Regions from separate parts of the Homo sapiens genome. Here all the other regions are linked to region 1. Evidence: promoter capture Hi-C in human tissues and cell types (Jung and others, 2019). All regions are on one chromosome and are shown on one strand. Each heading gives the region's core, a stretch centred on a gene start or on the middle of the fragment in contact. The rest is flanking DNA. Distances are from core to core; before and after follow the strand shown. Region 1 holds the start of F2RL1 (F2R like trypsin receptor 1). Region 2 overlaps IQGAP2 (IQ motif containing GTPase activating protein 2). Region 3 overlaps IQGAP2 (IQ motif containing GTPase activating protein 2).

What was found. Contacts are between HindIII fragments. The study calls those that stand out against the background at their distance.
Region 2: a contact is called between a fragment that was not itself captured here and the fragment with the promoter of F2RL1 in region 1, in 1 of the 25 tissues and cell types used here (IMR-90 fibroblasts).
Region 3: a fragment that was not itself captured here is called in contact with the fragment with the promoter of F2RL1 in region 1 in 1 of the 25 tissues and cell types used here (mesenchymal stem cells).

Annotation. Positions count from the first base shown.
Region 1 is chr5:76,817,697-76,820,573 of GRCh38, reverse strand. F2RL1 (F2R like trypsin receptor 1) reads right to left here and starts at 1,544. Exons shown (of 2, transcript NM_005242.6): 1 at 1,310-1,544. The coding sequence starts at 1,391. RefSeq lists enhancers at 593-1,210, 1,211-1,828 and a silencer at 1,516-1,810. The HindIII fragment of the contact is 2,769 bases long and covers 1-2,607 here.
Region 2 is chr5:76,625,544-76,628,243 of GRCh38, reverse strand. It overlaps IQGAP2 (IQ motif containing GTPase activating protein 2), which reads right to left. Exons shown (of 36, transcript NM_006633.5): 14 at 744-834. Among named protein-coding and RNA genes, the nearest start is that of F2RL2, 3.5 kb to the right of the region's middle. The HindIII fragment of the contact is 4,209 bases long and covers 1-2,700 here.
Region 3 is chr5:76,577,198-76,579,979 of GRCh38, reverse strand. All of the region lies in intron 5 of IQGAP2 (IQ motif containing GTPase activating protein 2), which reads right to left. Among named protein-coding and RNA genes, the nearest start is that of F2RL2, 45 kb to the left of the region's middle. The HindIII fragment of the contact is 4,937 bases long and covers 1-2,782 here.

The DNA of each region.
Region 1 (2,877 bases), core at 295-2,794:
AGGTGTCCATTACAGTTTTCAATACTTCCTGGAACTAAATGCCTTTATTCTGATGCTGATTAAGAAAAAAAAATATACCAGCGGTGCACAGTTTTCAAGCTTACACCATTAACACCCTTTTCCCTAACTGCAGAGGGAAAAGAATCACATTCTTCCATCTAATTCCAACCCACTGTGACTTGCTCTTTTACTTCGTCTTTATGAAGAGGAGGATAAAAGTGAGAAATGCGCATTTCTGAGGGAAATTAAAAGCTCCCTTTGCTACCCAGGCTGCCCCAAACAGAGGGGCCTCGGTTAGGATCACAGTGGCGCGATCGCAGGTCAAACATCCCCCACGGCCACAGCGAGGCCTGCTGGGCCCGGAAGAACACACTCCCAGCAATACAAGTTCGAGCACACCCGGAGCAGCACATCCAAGGAACGCGACGGCCGGGCGCAAGTGCTGCTCTGTTCCCAGGCCAGCCAGCCTCTGGCCTGCAGACCTGGGTGGCAGCCAGTGGCCGCTCCGGGTGGCACACTAGGAAAGTCCCGGAACCCCAGGCCCAGAGGGTCAACTGGTCAAATATAAGGCAGGGTCCAAAAAGTTCCGCTCGTAAATCCTCGTGGCGCCCAACGGGCCTGAGCGCTCATTACCACCAGAACCCATCAGGGACCGGCCCTGACTTTCATACCCCGGGCCTTCCACTGTGGGTGCCAGGAGCAGCGGGACCCGGGTGGGTCTCGAACGCAGGGGCCAGAACCCGAAGAAAGGCTTCCAGCAGTTGGAGAGGGACGCAAAAAACAACCTAGAAGGCTCCCGGGCCGCGGGTTCCCACCCACTCCGCCCTGCCCTGCGCAATCAGCTCGCTAACCCCACCGGCCCCGCGGGGCCAGCGGAGGAAGTCTCCGGAGTTGGCAAAAAGCTCTTAATGACTTAGTGTTTACAAAGCAACCAAGCCCGGGGAGGGGACTAGGTCCTCTGCGTACCCTTTAGACACAGCTACTCCTTCCTTCCCTCCCTTTCCCCGAACCCACGCTGGGGCCTGGAGGTGCCCAGCATGACAGCCTCTACGGGAAGTGGGGTCTTTGGGGAAATCTCTGCCTCTGCCCGGCTCCGCTGACTTCAGCTGCTCCCGCATGTCCCACCTGGGTGCCTCCTTGGCGCAGAGACCTCACATCAAAGCCACCAAGGGGAGGCTAAGGGATTCGTAGAGATGGGTGCCGGCAGCAGAACAGCCTTCGCACACCTGCCCGGATCCCACCGTCTGCCCAGCGTGCCCAGGACCCCAGCTCCTCAGAGATAAGAGCCCTCCTTGGCCAGGTTTCTCACCTTGGATGGTGCCACTGCAGGAGAGAGAGGCTGCTAGCAGGATGGCGGCCCCCAGCAGCCACGCCGCGCTGGGGCTCCGCATCCTCCTGGAAGCCCCGACGCCGGGCGCGCGGGGAATCCGCCGCCGCCGATTCGAAACTCAGAGCTCCACTGGACGCACCGAGAGAAAGTCAGCCTCTCACCTGCCCCGAATCGGAGCCTCTGCTGCGCGCCTCCCCAGGGCGGGTTAGGTTTCAGGGAAACCGAAGGAGCAGCGTACTCACCTGCGGGAGGCCACGCCCCGGGACCGGAACGCGCGCCCTGGTCCCGCCCCCGGCCCCCTTCCCTGCGCAGCTGCGCCCTCCGCTTCCCGGACTCGCGCCAGGTCCCTTAGACTGCGGGAGCCGCCTGCGGGCGGGGTTGAGCGCATGAGGTGTCTGCTTTGGAATGCAAATAGCAGGAGCGCTGGGACCACGGGTTAATCCCTGCCTAGGCTATACCGCGAACTACCTTTAATCTTTACTTACTCCTAGAGAAGCGGGTCGTCGGTCTCCCTTGCCTTTCCTGACTGTGGGAAAGCCACGATTCGTACTCACTGCAATTGTGGTTGGTAACTGATACAGACAGGGCTTCCCGGTGCGGTGGACCCTGCAGGAGGAGGGATGCGTTTTTTATTGTAGAGGCAGGTGGGCAACTGCGGACATCACGAAAGCGGTGGGGAGCACAAGAGGCGGGGCGGGAAAGAAGACATGGAATGGCTACTTTCAGCGCCAAGTGCCAAAGCTTTAGAGAATTATCTTGCTTAATCCCCATAACAACCAGCGCAATAAGTATGATTATTCTTCCCATTTTACAGACGAGGAAAGTGAGCTTAGAAAGACCAGATAAATTGGCCAGAGTTACACGACTTATAAACACAGTGTATAAATGTTTATCACATTTCAACTCCAGTATAAGACTATCACTGTCTTCTATTCATCGCTGCACTATAAATGCGTCCACCAGGGCTCCTCTGCATTGGGATCCCATAGGCTAAATAAATACAAAAGCAGATAGAAGGGGTGGGAGAAGAGAAGTGTGGGGTTGGGGATGAGTGCATGAGGGTTGGCATCATATTGGTAATGTCTTACTTTTTGTTTTTGAGACGGAGTCTCGCTCTGTCTCCCAGGCTGGAGTGCAGTGGCGTGATCTCGGCTCACTGCAAACTTTGTCTCCTGGGTTCAAGCAATTCTCTGGCCGCAGCCTCCCGAGTAGCTGGAGTTACAGGCGTGCACCACATCTGGCTAATTTTTGTATTTTTAGTAGAGGCGGGGTTTCACCATGTTGGTCTGGCTAGTCTCGAACTCCTGACCTCGTGATCAGCCCACCTCCGCCTCCCAAAGTGCTGCGATTACAGGCGTGAGCCACCGCACCCAGCATGTCTTACTTTTTATTTGCTTTTTAAAAGATTGAATAAAACAAAGTCTACTGTTACCCATTTAAACTATTGGTACCAGAAGAGCACAGAAGAGAGACATAGGTATTTTCAAATATTTAAAGGATTCGCTTGTAGAAGAGGATTTAGATGTGTTTTGAGTTGCTCCAGAGAG
Region 2 (2,700 bases), core at 162-2,661, 190 kb after region 1:
TGTCCACTAATTCCCAAAAGTCTGATTATGTACTTTCTCCTAAGTACAGTCACCCTGGTAAAAGGCCATAGGTCCCTTTGGGGGAGGGGTGGAAGAAAGACTAACAGTATAAATTTTTGGTAGTGTAGCTGAGTTTTTCCTCAAGGGGCCTGGCCTTCCCTTCATTTGAGGGGTTCTGGGTTTGTAAACTGGCCCCATTCTGGGAACTGATTGAGGGTCCATGACTATTTTTATGATTCAAGGTAGACTTCTGTTTGCTTGACCCAAAACTCATCCAGTTGTACAGATTAAGTAAGAATTGAGTAGACTGCCAGTCTATTTCACTTCTAGTTGCACCATGATCAGCTAGCCAACTCCATAGGTCTCCTATTGGTTCTGTTTCTGTGGAAAACCCTGGTAACTATAAAGGCCATGGAAAGGAGAAAAAGGCATTTATTAAGTAGAAATGGTCTAGTTCTCTAAAAATCAAGAGAAAAAAAGAATTTTATTCAATTATACAATTTGAGAGCTTAAAAACTATTTTTTACCTTCTGGATTTTGTTCAGCAACATTGTTACATTTTGTTGGAGATAGAGTCAAATCACTGACAATAGGGCAACCAACTAATTTCGGTATAATTATGTGTCCAAGAACTAAAACTTGGTAAGAATCCAAATCTTTCAGAAATTAAAAATCACATGACTTCAGGCACATAACCAAATCCAAAAAGGCAAGTTTCAAGAGCAAAGGAGGTGAGGGCTTACATTGTTTTGCTCTGTCCTTGTCCACGTTGGCATCATCGACGGCTTGCTGTATCTCATCCAGCCAAAGCACTTTGGAAACACTCTCAGAGTCCTGGGGACAATGTCACAGAATAAAAAGAAAGAAGAGTGAATGATGAGGAAACAGAATTAATAACTGCTTTTGAGGAGCCATTTAATCATAATTCCCACAAATTCTTAATCAGCAACTATCCAGCTCTGCCATATACTGTACACACTCCTAATGAAGCAGACCCCAAACCCGACCACTTCCTCCTTCTTCCCCACCACTCTTTAGTCCAGCCCCCCATCATCTCCCAACTGGACAGCTGCATCAGCCCCCTAGCAGCTTCTGCTGCATCTAAGCTTGCCCTCACCACAGTGGCCCTCTACAGAGGGCCCAGAGGATCCCTTCAAAATAGATAGCTCAGTGCACCACTCCTCTACTTAAAGCTTCCCCAAAGGCTTCCCCCGGCAGTTAGAAGGAAACACAGGGTGCCTTCTCAGGGATGGCGGGGCTCCAACGGCATGGCCCTGCCTACTGCCTCTCTGGCTGCACCTCACACCCGTTTACTTCCCCCTTCCTGTTCTAGACCTTCACACGAGTCTCTTTCAGACCACAATACTCTACCCTCACTGTGTGGCTGTTGGCTTTTTCTTACCATTCAGGTCTCAACTCAAATGCTACCTACTCCAAAAAGTCTTCCCGGGCTACCCTAGTCAAACACTCTCTCCCTCAATCAATTATTGTGGTTCCCAAACTAAGTGTCAAGGTGTCCCAGGGTACCATGGGATATTTTTAATTTGAGAGAAACACAGGGATCGTCGATATTTATCAGACACAGAGACAAAAATTAAAAACAAACAACAACATGGTGATTGTCCTCAAGGACCTAACAATGTAGTGTAAGAGACAGATGTGTCAAGACATATAGCTGGGCATGGTGGCTTACACCTGTAATCCCAGCACTTTGAGAGGCTGAGGGTGGTGGACCACTTGAGGTCAGGAGTTCGAGACCAGCCTGGCCAACATGGTGAAACCTCATCTCTACTAAAAATACAAAAATTAGCCAGGAGTGGTGGTGCATGCCTGTAGTCCCAGCTACTTGGGAGGAAGGCGGGAGGATTGCTTGAACCTGGTGGGTGGAGGTTGCAGTAAGCCAAGGTCAGGCCACTGAACTCCAGCCTTGGGACAGAGTGAGACTCTGTCTCACAAAAAAAAAAAAAAAAAAAGAAAAGAAGAAAAAAAAGAAAAAGAATTATAATACAATGTGATCAGGGCAATATATACTGCAGACACATGATCCAGACATAGGTGAGAAAGGGTTAACCTATGGTAAAGGTGTCAAGTTGCAGGGGGAGCAAAGACTAAGTAGTTAAAGATAGCTTTAGAAAGGAAGCAACAGCAGCAATGAAAATGTATTGCATTATTCCTATTATAGGTAAATATTCCTATTTAACTTTGGGTTGATTCTGATGGTCCTGCTACAAAAGCAGCCCTGACAGATATTAAGTGGAACTTCCAGGTAGCAATTGTGTTTTATAAAATCTTTTCTGAGATGGCAAGTAAATAATTATCAGCAGAGATATTTTCAGGAAACATGTGACATTTAACAAATGGGAACATTTTACCTATGTGTAGGAATAAGTGTCGTGTTCTAAATCCTAAGTCAAGACTGTGATGAATGAAAGGTAATGGATCTGGCACCGACTCCGTCATTTAAAACTTAAGATGGATGGGGGCAGGAAGGAGAGGAAATAGTCACTGGTTCCTCTGGCAGGCTTCTAACACTATTTTCCTCAGAGGTTAACGTGAGATAATGCATGTGGAAAGGGCTCTGAAAATGAGATAAACTATCTGTTATTTCATCGTGCAACATCTGGGCTAAAGGAGACCTCTGGGGAAGTGTTGGTGCCTGCTTCCACAATCACCTCTAGCTATGCGGCAGACTACAAGGGA
Region 3 (2,782 bases), core at 174-2,673, 240 kb after region 1:
TATAGATATTTTTATACTATTTATACTACATGAAAGAATAAAGACCAAGAACTTTGAGTAAACTAAATAGTCCCAGAAAACAAAGGAAGTGCCCCAAGATAAGGAAGAACCAAGGAGCATAGGTGGTGACAGAAACACCGGGTAGAAAGAGGGTCCAGCACTGGTGGTCACATCCACTAACTAAGTGGAGGCAGGACTAGAAACATGATCTGAGATGATAAATCAGCCCAAAAGCCTAAGGATCACTGGGTACAGTCAATCCCTTGTCTCCCAGGGGATGAAAACCTCTAGAAAGCCCAACTAATTAAAAAAAAAATATTTAAAAGGCATACATAAGCTTTTAATAATGTTAATGGATCAGGCCAATACATCATTATGACAGGACAATGGATTATACAATGCTGGTCAAGTGAGACTTAAGAAAGTAAATTATTTCAGGGTAATGGGGAAGGGGGGCAGGGGTGGGGACCAGATTGTAAATAAAGACCTACCTGAAAGCCGGGTACTTAAATGCGGTCTGATTTTTTTTTTTTTTTTTTAAACAAAGAAAGTTTAGCCTGATGCCTGTGGCCAGGGTCTGACTCGCCATGGGAGAAGAACCCAAAGTTGCGCCATGTTCTGACTCACAAGTGATCCATCCGAAACCCAGATCTGTAATCATGGCAGGTTTGAAAGGGTATTCTTTTGTTTCTGGTGCCACGAAGATTATGTCAATTCTGGGTAGGTATCAAAATAATATAATAGCCAAGGACAACTCAAAACTAGTTATAAATAATAAACAAAATGAGTGAAACTTGTAGTATGGGTCTTACAGAATAGGTTCCAGTGTAGTAAGTTTGTAATAACGTACCTGGGCATTTCACCTGCTCTTTAAGGTATCTGAAGTACTCAAAACATCATTTCTACTAAATTATTCCAACTCTTTCAAGGAACTCACTTTTATGACTGTTTAAACAAGTAACAGTTGTTTAATATCATTTATTATACATCTTTAATAAGGTGGGCACTAAACAACATGTCAAAAAAGTGTTCTTACCCTTACGTAAAAGGCCTCCAGATATTTTTTAAAAATTAGTATAGTAACTAGTTAGTAAGGCTCTCACTCTTAAACTGGTTCCTTTTCAAGGCAGAGGCTTTATAACATTCCAAAAGAAGCCACAAAAGTAAAACATGCCATACGCAGTATACACTTTAAGTTCAAAGATATCAAAATAGTTACAGTGGTTTTTACTTGGTGTTGAGATAGTGGGTATTTTAGCTTTTTCTTTAACATTCTTCCTGGATTTTCCAATTTTTTCCACAATGAGCATACATTACTTTTGAAAAAATGAGAAAAAGACAAACATTTCTTTAGAAAAAGAATGATGTGGCCGGGCGTGGTGGCTGATGCCTGTAATCCCAGCACACTGGGAAGCTGAGGCAGGCAGATCACGAGGTCAAGAGATCAAGACCATCCTGGCCAACATGGTGAAACCCCGTCTCTACTAAAAATACAAAAAATTAGCTGGGCATAGTAGTGCGTGCCTGTAGTCCCAGCTACTCAGGAGGCTGAGGCAGGAGAATCACCTGAACCCGGAAGGTGGAGGTTGCAGTGAGCTGAGATTGCACCACTGCACTCTAGCCTGGTGACAGAGTGAGACTCCATCTCAAAAAAAAAAAAGATGCCATCCACCGCTAAGGTGAGTCTGTCTACATTAGGTGAAGCTTGAGAATTTCCTCCCTTTGCTGCTGTGGTAATGTTCATGGAGTCTGGCTTGAGAACACCAAGCTAAACTGACACAGGGATTGGTGAGTGGTAGGACACGAGACTGGGATCAGAAATAAAATGATAAGGTGAGGGGCAGGCAGCAAAGGGGAACACAGATACAAACAGGAAGCAAGCATAAGCACCCAGAAGTTAGGTTGTTAAGCCCAAATCAAGATGACAGGGAATAGGAGACAAGTTTGGTCAGGGCTAAGAGCTAACTTTTTAGATCAAGTCAGGCCCACAGGCTGGGGCAGGAAGAAGGCAGCGCCTGGCAAGCTTAACTTCCTAGGGAAACTTCCTTGCTGGCTTCTGAGTTATAATCAGAATCTCTGACCTGCCTAATTACTCTACCAGGTAATAACAACTCTCAAATACAGCAGCAGTGCTGTATTTGCAGCCAGGATATAAAAGCTGAAGACATGTTAGTTCATTTCCATCATCATTTCTAACTATGCAGCAAGAGTATTTATCAAACCCACTGTATTTATTAGAGGATTGTTCCTCAGCTTTCAAATGTGTCTTGCACAACAAAGCAGAATATCAGCCTCCTTTGAGTGACTGACTGCATTTTAAATCATAGCAGGAACAAGTTTTGGTGGAAAAAGCTGCAAGATACACTTGGGACTTCTCGGCTCCATAGTGAGAGGCAGCTATACAATAATTTAGAACAAAGAAAAGCGAGGAGAATGCTATTTACTAAATAAATATTGCTTTTGAAGATAAAATATCCTACTTAAGATCAGATCTGGTGAATGACATGACCCAACAGGAATCCCCTCCAGGATGAGTAAAAGTAATGGAGATGTCTATGATGAATAACTGAAAAACACAGTCCTGGAAAATATCACATCAATATTTGTATACAATTGGTAATAATAAACAAAAAGTTGTTTTTTCTTTGTTTACCAAGCTATTCAAGCCATTGTTAAAACCATGGCAAATACACATGTAAGTCTAAGTGCAGCTCTAGATAGCTCCTTTAGGAGAACCATGATATCACCAGAAAGGAACTTAGCATACCATTTGTTTATAAGC